Linked DNA regions of Homo sapiens: all the other regions are linked to region 2. Evidence: promoter capture Hi-C in 16 types of primary human blood cells and fetal thymus (Javierre and others, 2016). All regions are on one chromosome and are shown on one strand. Each heading gives the region's core, a stretch centred on a gene start or on the middle of the fragment in contact. The rest is flanking DNA. Distances are from core to core; before and after follow the strand shown.

Region 1 (3,638 bases), core at 23-2,522, 140 kb before region 2:
AGAAACAAAGCCAGGCACAGTGGCTCCCGCCTGTAATCCCAACACTTTGGGAGGCCAAGGTGGGAGGATCACTTGAGGTCAGGAGTTCAAGATCAGTCTGGCCAACATGGTGAAACCCCACCTCTACTAAAAATACAAAAATTAAGGCCAGGCATGGTGGCTTACGCCTGTAATCCCAGCACTATGGGAGGCTGAGGTGGGCGGATCACCTGAGGTTGGAAGTTCGAGACCAGCCTGACCAACATGGAGAAACCCCGTCTCTACTAAAAATACAAAATTAGAAGGGCGTGGTAGTGCATGCCTATAATCCCAGCTACTCGCGAGGCTGAGGCAGGAGAATTGCTTGAACCTGGGAGGCAGAGGTTGCAGTGAGCTGAGATCGCGCCACTGCACTCCAGCCTGGGCAACAAGAGCGAAACTCCATCTCAAAAACCAAAAACAAAAACAACAACAAAAATTAGCCTGGCATGGTGGCACGCCCCTGTAATCCCAGCTACTCGGGAGGCTGAGGCAGGAGAATCGTTTGAACCTGGGAGGCAGAGGTTGCAGTGAGCTGAGATCATGCCACTGCACTCCAGCCTGGGTGACAGAGTGAGAAATGAGATGTTATATTTAAAAAACTTCCACTTCTTTTACTCTTTTATTTTTTAAAATTTATTTATTTATTGTTTTCAGACAGTCTCACTCCGTCACCCAGGATGGAGTGGAGTGGTGTGATCTTGGCTCACTGCAACCTCCCCCTCCTGGGTTTAAGAGGTTCTCCTACCTCAGCTTTCCTAGCAGCTGGGATTAGAGATGCCCAGCTCCAAGCCAGGCTAATTTTTGTATTTTTAGTAGAGACAGGGTTTCACCATGTTGGCCAGGCTAGTCTCGAACTCCTGACCTTAAGTGATCCCCCCACCTCGGCCTCCCAAAGTGCTGGGATTACAGGCGTGAGTCACTGCGCCCTGCCAAAACTTCCACTTCTGATAGCAACCACAAATATGAAATATGCAGGAATAAAGTCGACCAGTAATGTGAAAGACATTATGAAAAAAAAACATTCAGAGAAATAAAGGGAATCTTTAAAAATGGAAAGAAACACTATGTATACCTAGATTGGAAAATCTAATATGAATTTTAAATTTTAATTTATTTTGGAAATACTTTGATGTAATAAAAATCAAAAGTTTAAATCAGAAAAAATAATTTTATTTTTTATTTTTAAATATTTTCTGACATATTCTGAGTCTGACTTTTGTTTGAGGAAATAATTTTAAAATGTTGAAAAATGGTATAAGACTGGTGCTACCAGTCATTACCATTTAGTACTTGGAAGTGATAACCAAACAGTGTGGAGCTGGCACAGGAAAAGACAGGTATGTCAGTAACACAGAAAGAAAAGACAGGTATGTCAGTAACACAGAAAGAAAAGACAGGTATGTCAGTAACACAGAAAGAAAAGACAGGTATGTCAGTAACACATCAATAGGAAAAAGGATAGATTACTTAGGGAATGACAAAATGTTTCATCTTGATGACAAATCTCGTAGGTTGGAGGTAGCTGCTTGCAGTTCTAATCGGGCTGTGAGGCCTAGTCTGAGTTTAGCCAGGAGTTCTGCATTTGATTAGAAATGTCTTCCGGGGGCCCGGGAAGGGGAGACAGATTCACTCGGACCACATATTTTCCCTTCTTGGATTATTCAATAAATATCATTGGACAACGAGCCTGCAATTTGGGGAAAAAAAATTACTAGCTCTTCCCATCATATATAATATATACCCAAGTAAATGTCAGATGGTTTAGATTTAAATAGTATAACAAAATGGAAATATAAAATACTAGGAGGAAAAAAGAGGAAATTTTGAAAAACAATTATTGAAGTTAGGGAAGGACTTTCCAAACCTGACTTTAAAGACAGAAACCATAAAGTTAAAGATTGATAGATTTAGCTACTTAATCATTAGACACTTCTGCAGAGCAGAAGTTAAAAGAAAACTGACACATTAAAAAAATGCATTATATGTCGAAGCGTTAATATTTTACTGTATAACGAGATCCTCAATCATTAAGAAAAATACGAACACTCCAATAGAAAAAGGTGAAAAAGATACGAATAGGCAATTCACTAAAGGAGAAATGCAAACAGCTGAGAGATACATAACATTTCTTTTTACTCACCAGTAATCCAAGAAATGAAAATTAAAACAATGCTATACCATTTTTTTCACCTGCCAAACTGGCAGAGAAAAATCTCCAGTGTGCTTAAGGATGGGGGAAACAACACTGAAATGGAGAAAATCCCAGCTAACTGGGCCTAGTCACTTTGGACACAAATTCTACTTTATAATGGTTTCCTATTTCAGAAAGCAGTCAAGCAGTAGAGGCATTTACTGGAGAGATCTGCAAAAGTTGAGAAAGGAGAAGACCTCTATGGCTAAACTATAATTCTGTAAATTTGTGGTTAGCAAGAATATCCTGTCAGACTGTTAAATTCTAGTTTCCTTTTCTTATTCTAAAACATCTTTTCTGAAGAAATGGGTCATGAGGGCTTAGCCTATTTTCCCCTAACAAAGCTTTAACATCTTGGATACCCAAATCCCTTGTTAAAATTTTGGGTATAAACTGGCCCCACCTTAGGGTACAGTGAGACAGCCCCCTACTGGGGATCACAGCATTGGCTTGAGGCCAAGAAGCCCACCCAGATGGGCCACTTCCTCCCCTGTGAGGAACAGGGGACTCACAGGTCTCCAGTCTTCTAATCCTGATCTGACACAGGTACAATAAACTCCATGTTTGTCACCTTGTTCTCAGTGGTGAGCTACAAAAATTAGCCGGACGTGGTGGCCGGCGCCTGTCCCAGCTACTGGGGAGGCTGACGCAGGAGAATCGTTTGAACCTGGGAGGCGGAGGTTGAAGTGAGCCAAGATCGCGCCACTGCACTCCAGCCTGGGATAGAGCCAGAAAAAAAAACAACAACAGTGCTCTTATAATAAATAAGACAAAATGCCCATCCCAGAAAGAAAACATGCAAAGGATATAAAGAGGTGGTTTATAAAAGAAAAAATATAAATTCAAAAATCATGAACCTTTCAGAATGCAAATTAAAATCACGAAGAGATCCTGCTTTTTGTTTAACAAATCAGCAAAGGCTAAAAAAAAAAGCAAGATGATGCCCAATGTTGGTGAAGGTACAGAAAAAGGGGCACAGTGATGACAGTACACTTTGGTAAAATCTTTCTGTAGAGTAGCATTTCTCAAAGAGTGGTGGGGGGCCCTAGGGCGCCCTCAGATCCTTTCAGGGGTCTGAGAGGTCAAAACTATTTTCTTTTTTTTAATAGGAAAATGTTTTTTAATTGGAACATTTTGGAAATAAGATAATGCAATGTCTTCTATAGTTACTCATTTACACTGAAACGTGATGGGTAACTTTTAGGGCGTTTGCTTCCAGTCACTTTCCCCTGACTCCTTGATGTGATAATTCCTTCCATAAGATACAACCATTCTCCCAAGAGACGCGATGACGAGTATGTGCGTGACTCTGGAGGGAAAGGGTCTACATCTGTCTCTGCTTGTGCCTCGGATGGGTTTTACAGTAGACGTACCACTGACCCCGCCTCTTCACCAGGTAACAGTCCTTGCAGCGCTTCTTAAGGAC
Region 2 (3,666 bases), core at 857-3,356:
GGTGATGTGTGTAAAATGCTTTGCCAATGTGAACACCAAACCCACTCAAATGAGGTCCCAAGGGACCACCGATTTCTAGTCTAAGGGCAGTAGGGAGATCGGAATTCAACATCTACCACTATGGTTTGAAAAGCCGGTTCAGGGCATTTGGCAGTCCCAGCTTGTCAGCTGACAAGCCACCTGCCTCGCTCCTCCCTTGGTCGCATGCTAACCTCCTCACTCATTTCCACTTCCAGGGGACCAGATGTGCAGAGGTAATGAATACCAGGGAATCAGGAAACCACTGGATCAGTTCTTTGAGCCACAGAACAACACTCATCCCAGCAGCTGGGAAGCTATCTGCAAAAGTCCATCTGCAGAAAGGGCTTCCTGGTCTTGCGTGTGGCTGGGCCATTTCTCTGGATGCAGGTTTTTCATTATACAGTCTTCTCAAAGAACCACCTGCTCTCAACACCTTCTCGGTGACTCCATTTCCCCTCCTCTGGGCTCCTGGAATGCCACAATGGCCCCACCTTAGCCAGGCAGCTGTGATGAGAGGTGTTGACCCAACTGCCTCTCTGCTGGCTCACTGAATCAGGTGGAAGGGGCTGGGGACAGCACAGTCTTGCATTGTGGTTGGGGACCTGGGCCATCCAGAGGCAGGACTGTCCAAAGGCAGGGTACTGCTGGGATTCCGCCAGGCACTGGGTGATGCATGGCATAGGGAGCTGAAGAGGGACAGGCTCTTGGCCAGGAAAAACAGCCCCAGAGCCACAGGTGTGCCATCGAGTCTTCCTCCTCTCCCATCCTTAATCACTCCTGTTTGGTGACAGCACACAGCTAGGCCTGGAGCCCAGCAAAGAGCCCCTGGGTCCCAGAGGAAGTTGTTCTGGGGGCTGGAGACAATCACAAATGCCAGGTTTGTGAGCCCCAGACTCTGGTTCATAGCAAGAGGCAGACTTGTGAACAAACCACCAGATCACACCGTAAAACACGCTCAACGAGGAGTGGGTGCCCTTTCTAGGGACAGGCAGAAGGCTCCATGGAGTGACCTTTGAATGGGGACATAAAAGTGGATCCCTTCAACAGCCCCTGCACAGCCCCAAGTCAGGCCTCCAGCCCTTGGACTCACAGATGTCCTCTGTAGACGACTGGATGTCCTCCCGTGCTACCCTTTACCCCTGCAGCGAGGGGCACAGAGCCAGAGCCCTCCAGGTCCTCACCACTGGCATCACCAACATAGTGGACATTTTCCCTCTCAGAATGAAAAGGGAGTGAAATTTCCCGTGATCTTTCCACAAATGACCAGCTTGGGGAGTGGGAGAGGAAGTGCTGCAGTGCCTGGGGAAGGGGCCCTGGAACAGTTCCTGGAAATGGAGAGGGGTGGATAGGGTGGAGACAATGCTCATGGAGTGCAGTATGGGGCCTACCCAGAGTTGCTTGGCCACCCCTCTGCCTCTGAATCAGGGGTGATCAATGAAGGAAAATTACTGCAGCAGTTGAGTCCATGTAAGATGATTGTGCACGTGTGTGTGTGTGTGTGTGTGTGTGTGTGTGTCCTCACTCACTTAAAAAAGACCATTTCTGTGCATTCTTTATGCTGGAACCCTCCTCTGCCTCCCTCTCCAGGAAATCCCATAGGATCCCATACCTGCTTTAGAATGTGTGTGAGACACTTCCCAGTGCCTGGCATGTGGTAGGAGCTCAGTACATGTAAACTGTTTTCCTTTGACCACTCAAAGTAGTCACTTGTTGGGGAGGCCAATGGCGGCTTCCCCGGTCTCTGAGCTGATGGGCGTCTGGTCCCTGCCTCCCCTTCCTTCACTGGCTGATGACAAATACCTGAATGTCATCACATCCTCCGTGTCCTCATCTGTTATTCTGGAACACAGGCCAGGGAGGGTACAGGGTAGTCCCCCTTCAACAGAGGCTGGCCTTTCTTGGGATGTGGGCTGGCTGGTGTTGGTCCAAGGATGGATGCAGAGGGTGAGGCACCCATCCTGCTAGTCCGGCCGGATGCTGGCAGGAGGGCGGGGTGAGGAGGGGCGGAGCTTCCAGAACAAAGGAGAATGGGGAGCCCAGGGGCCAGCCTAGGCATCAAAAAGGCTCTGCAGAGTGAACAGGCCACAGCACTGCCTGCCTCTGCCCCAGCAGTCAGCCAGCCGACCGCGCCTGCTCCCTCCTGCTTGCCCAAGGCCGGGCAAGTCATCCCCACTCTGCTTCGAGAGGCCCCGTTTTCCAGCGTGATTGCGCCGACACTGCTCTGTGGGTTTCTCTTCTTGGCGTGGGTTGCTGCTGAGGTTCCAGAGGAGAGCAGCAGGATGGCCGGGAGCGGAGCCAGGAGTGAGGAAGGCCGCCGGCAGCATGCCTTCGTCCCGGAACCTTTTGATGGGGCCAATGTCGTCCCAAACCTCTGGCTGCACAGCTTTGAAGTCATCAATGACCTCAACCATTGGGACCATATCACCAAGCTAAGGTTCCTGAAAGAGTCCCTCAGAGGAGAGGCCCTGGGTGTCTACAATAGGCTCAGTCCCCAGGACCAGGGAGACTATGGGACTGTGAAAGAGGCCCTCCTGAAGGCCTTTGGGGTCCCTGGGGCTGCCCCCAGCCACCTGCCCAAAGAGATCGTCTTTGCCAACAGCATGGGTAAGGGCTACTATCTCAAGGGGAAGATTGGCAAAGTGCCCGTGAGGTTCCTGGTGGACTCTGGGGCCCAGGTCTCTGTGGTCCACCCAAACTTGTGGGAGGAGGTCACTGATGGCGATCTGGACACCCTGCAGCCCTTTGAGAATGTGGTAAAGGTGGCCAATGGTGCTGAAATGAAGATCCTGGGTGTCTGGGATACAGCGGTGTCCCTAGGCAAGCTGAAGCTGAAGGCACAGTTCCTAGTGGCCAATGCGAGTGCCGAGGAAGCCATCATTGGCACTGATGTGCTCCAGGACCACAATGCTATCCTGGACTTTGAGCACCGCACATGCACCCTGAAAGGGAAGAAGTTTCGCCTTCTGCCTGTGGGAGGGTCCCTGGAAGATGAGTTTGACCTGGAGCTCATAGAGGAGGACCCCTCCTCAGAAGAAGGGCGGCAGGAGCTATCCCACTGAGAAGCCACCTTTTCTTTAACCTCCTAAATATTGGTGGGAAGACCCACCGCTGTGGGGGGGGTTGCATATCCTCATGGGGGTCACTGGGCTTGGCCAGTCTGCTTATCAACTCTTGCTCTTCTCTCCCCTTTGCCTCCCTCTGCAGGGGCCTTAATCTGCCCCTGGTAGGGGAGGCTTCCACTGAACAGGCACAGGTGAGGGAGAGCAGGCTGGCTTAGAGGGACAGGGTCCCCATGGTCATCAAGCTGCTGTTGATGACAAAGACTCAAAGGCTGGAAGAGCTCCCAAGGAAGCTAGAAATGCTTGTCTTTGAAAGAACTGTGGGACCCCTTCAGATTCCCTGAGGTATGGCTTGGTCACTCTCAGGTCCTCAAAGCCTGTCTTAGTTGGGCTGGGTCCTAGCTGCAGGGTCTTTGTGAGGGTCACAGTTGCTCTGGGACACCTCCCTGAAGAGCCTTTCCACCTGTACAATCGTATTTTCTTTCTGTCATTTGCTTTGAAGCCCATTGTGCCTTATGCCAATAATTCAATTGCTGCAAACACCAATAAAGATTGATTCATGGAAAAACCATGTAATGTGTTGATT
Region 3 (3,824 bases), core at 1,109-3,608, 240 kb before region 2:
CAGGTAGGTTAACTACTATTTAAGGCAAAGTCTTTAGTTACATTGCAAACATAAATTAAATACTTAGGAGGTAATGTTTTGGACTCTTCCTGGCTATCACTCATCAGTTAATTAGGGTCTTTTAGAATTTGGTTTGGCTGGGTGTAGTAGCTCACACCTATAATCTCAGCGCTCTGGGAGGCCAAGGTGGTAGGATTGCTTGAACCTAGGAGTTTGAGAGACCAACCTGGGCAACATAGTGAGACTCCATCTCTACAACATAAAAAATTAAAATAAATAAATTAGCCAGGCATGGTGGCATGCACATGTAGTTCCAGCTACTTGGGAGGCTGAGGTAGCAGGATGATTTGACCCCGGGGAGTTGAGGCTGCAGTGAGCCATGATCATGCCACTGCACTCCAGCCTGGGCAACAGAGCAAGACCCTGTCTCAAAAAAAGAAAAATACAATGCCAAATGTTGCATGGGACACACTTATACTAAAAATAAAAATAAAAAAAATAAAAAATTGTTGTTTAGCTGAAATTCAAATTTAATGGAGTGTCCTGTATATTTTTTCTGTTGATTCTAGAGACAGTTGCAGGGTGGTGCAGCCAAAGCTGCCTTGGAGGCAGCTGCAGGTGGGACACATGAGGGGCAGCTGGGGCGGGTCCTGAGGACCACTGAGGTGAGCGCTGCTAGGGCTTCTGTACACTGATCCATTGGCTCCCACGCTGAGTATGAGAAGAGAACCAGAACCCATGAAGGAAGTGCCTTCCTTCCACTATCACTGCATTGTTCCCCAAGTGCCCTCTATTGACAAAGCGTAACATTGAGCCAACAAAGGAAAAATGTTTCAAAAAAAAAAGTGAATTGGGGGCTGAGAGACTCCCTTCTCAGGGCCTTGCACATGAACAGCTTTTCCCTATTTTGTGCTTTCAAGTCTCCACTTAAGTCACTTCCTCTAAGAGGCCTTCCTTTCTTCACTCCACAATCTAAATCACTAGCGTCTCAATCCATCTTATACTTTTCCTTTATAGCATTTGTCATAATTTTTAATTCTATTTAATTATTCATGTAGTTATTTATTTAAAACCTGTCCTCCCCACTAAACTAAAGTACTGATGACTATTTCCTTTTTTTTTTTTTTTTTCTTTGAGACAGAGTCTTGCTCTGTCTCCCAGGCTGGAGTGCAGTGGCACAATCTCGGCTCACTGAAACCTCTACCTCCAGGGTTCAAGTGATTCTTCTGCCTCAGCCTCCCAAGTAGCAGGGATTACAGGTGCATGCCACCACGCCTAGCTAATTTTTGTATTTTTAGTAGAAACGGGGTTTCACCATGTTGGCCACGCTGGTCTCGAACTCCTGCCCTCAAGTGATCTGCCAGCCTCAGCCTCCCAAAGTGCTGGGATTACAGGCATGAGCCACTGCTCCTGGCCTGGTGACTATTTCTTCAATGCCATAATATCCAGTACATGGTAAATAATAAAGCTTAATAAATGTTGAATTAATTGATTAATGAATGAGTTAATTAAATTGTTATTTCAAACAATCTAGTTTTGACCAAATGGCTTTCCACCTCGTGTGGACAGTACTACCAGCTGGAGTACTGGGAGTAAGTTAATAAAAAGCTGGCATTGAAGGACCAAATCAGGGCCAAGTTCTTTAAGCCATGTGATGTCATTTAAACTTTTTTTATCCTGAAGACCCCAGGGAGCCACTGATCCAATTTGTATTTAGTCAAGACGTGTTCCAGGTTGCAGACTTGATGAGCAGTTAGATGCATGGTGGATCCTTAGTTACTGGGATGTGAGAAGGCAGAGAAGCATGTTTGTGAGAGTGAGTAAGGACAGGAGCTATCATGGTGAGAGAGCAGGAGATGAGAGCAAATTAGTCTTACCTTTTTTTTTTTCAGACAGAGTCTCACTCTGTTGCCCAGGCTGGAGTGCAGTGTGTGATCTCGGCTCACTGCAGCCTCCGTCCGCCTCCTGGGTTCAAGCAATTCTCGTGCCTCAGCCTCCCAAGTGGCTGGGATTACAGGTATGTGCCACCACACCCAGTTAATTTTTGTATTTTGGGTAGAGACGGGGTTTCGCCATGTTGGCTAGGCTAGTCTTGAACTCCTGACCTCAGGTGATCCGCCTGCCTTGGCCTCCCAAAGTGCTGGGATTACAAGCGTGAGCCACCTCGCCTGGCCTTATCTTTCGATATGTGAGATTGGACGTGGGTGACACAGGTAGAAATATCCAGTAGGTAATGACATGGAATTTCGGAGGGTGATCTGGGCTGGATATAGAAATGGGAATCGTCTGTGTTTACGTGTTAGTTCAACCCTTGGAGTAGAGATCACCAAGTGAGATGAGGACTGTGGATAAAACTCAGGATCATTAGTGTTCAAGGAGGCAGAGGCAGGCCGGGTGCGGTGGCTCATGCCTGTAATCCCAGCAATTTGGAAGGCTGAGGTGGGCAGATCACTTGAGCCCAGGAGTTCAAGACCAGCCTGGGCAACATAGCAAGACCTCATCTCTACAAAAAATTAAAAAAAAATAGCCAGGCATGGTGGCATGTGCCTGTGGTTCCACCTGCTCAGGAGGCTGATGTAGGAGGATCATTTGCGTCCAGGAGGTTGAGACTGCAGTGAGCTGTGATCATGCCTCTGCACTGCAGCCTGGGCAACAAAACAAGACCCTGTCTCAAGAAAAAAAAAAAAGAGAATTCATGTGTTTTTGTGCATGTCTATACTGTTTTTCTAGGATACTTAGAAATTGAATGGGTTAAGGAAATGTGAATTGTAAAAATTGTATTGTATAGTGCCAAATTACCCTCTTAAAATGCTGTATATCAAAAAAAAAAAAAAAAAAAAAAAGGCTGTATACCAGCTGGGAGCGGTGGCTCACATCTATAATCCCAGCACTTTGGGAGGCCAAGGCAGGTGGATTCCCCCGAGGTCAGGAGTTCGAGACCAACATGGTGGTTGGTCAACATGGTGAAACCCTGTCTCTACTAAAAATACAAAAATCAGCCAGGCGTGGTGGCGCACACCTGTAGTCCCAACTACTGGGGAGGCTGAGTCAGGAGAATTGCTTGAACCTGGGAGGTGGAGGTTGTAGTGAGGCAAGATTAGGTCATTGCACTCCAGCCTGGCTGACAGAGCGAGACTTCATCTCAGAAAAAAAAAGGTCATATACCGTTTTACGCTCCAACCATTTATGTCAGAAAGCTCTTATTTCCCTTACATTCCTTCACCAATGCTGGTTGTTATCAAGCTTTTATCTTTTGCCAATCCAATGAATGTAAAATAATCTCTTTAGCTGTATTTCCCTGATTACAAGTAAAGTTAGTCATTTTTCATGATAATTGGCCATTTGTATTTATTTCTGTGAGATATCTGTTCATATCCTTTGTCTATTTCTTCATTAGATTGTTTCACTGTTTTTTTTTATCAATTAGTAAGAATCCCTTATATAGTTTGATATGCAAAAATCCTCTCTGAAAAAATGTGTCCTCCACCGAGGTCACTCAGGATTACCTCAGATTAAAATAATCATTTGAAGCCAGGTGTGGTGGCTCACACCTGTAATCCCAGCACGTTGGGAGGCTGCGGTGGGTGAATCACAAGGTCAAGAGATCAAGATCATCTGGCCAACATGGTGAAACCCTGTCTCTACTAAAAATACAAAAATTAGCTGTGTGTGGTGGTACATGCCTGTAGTCCCAGCTACTTGGGAGGCTGAGGCAGGAGAATCACTTGAACCCAGGAGGCGGAGGTTGCAGTGAGCCGAGATCGCACCACTGCACTCCAGCCTGGTGACAGAGCAAGACTCTGTCTCAAAAAAATAATAATAAA

What was found. Contacts are between HindIII fragments. The CHiCAGO score rates a contact against its expected background, and 5 or more counts as called.
Region 1: a contact is called between a fragment that was not itself captured here and the fragment with the promoter of ASPRV1 in region 2, in 2 of 17 cell types (neutrophils and monocytes). The highest score is 21.5, in neutrophils.
Region 3: a contact is called between a fragment that was not itself captured here and the fragment with the promoter of ASPRV1 in region 2, in 9 of 17 cell types (total CD8 T cells, naive CD8 T cells, total CD4 T cells and 6 more). The highest score is 9.4, in total CD8 T cells.

Annotation. Positions count from the first base shown.
Region 1 is chr2:70,102,761-70,106,398 of GRCh38, reverse strand. It overlaps the pseudogene MRPL36P1. Among named protein-coding and RNA genes, the nearest start is that of PCBP1, 17 kb to the right of the region's middle. RefSeq lists an enhancer at 2,917-2,966. The HindIII fragment of the contact is 2,573 bases long and covers 1-2,558 here.
Region 2 is chr2:69,960,071-69,963,736 of GRCh38, reverse strand. It overlaps ASPRV1 (aspartic peptidase retroviral like 1), which reads left to right and starts at 2,106. Exons shown (of 1, transcript NM_152792.4): 1 at 2,106-3,648. The coding sequence starts at 2,301. The coding sequence ends at 3,080. PCBP1-AS1 (PCBP1 antisense RNA 1) reads left to right here. Exons shown (of 11, transcript NR_033872.1): 11 at 237-1,474. RefSeq lists a silencer at 1,926-2,220. The HindIII fragment of the contact is 12,271 bases long and covers 1-3,666 here.
Region 3 is chr2:70,196,473-70,200,296 of GRCh38, reverse strand. No RefSeq gene overlaps it. Among named protein-coding and RNA genes, the nearest start is that of C2orf42, 7.4 kb to the right of the region's middle. The HindIII fragment of the contact is 1,775 bases long and covers 1,471-3,245 here.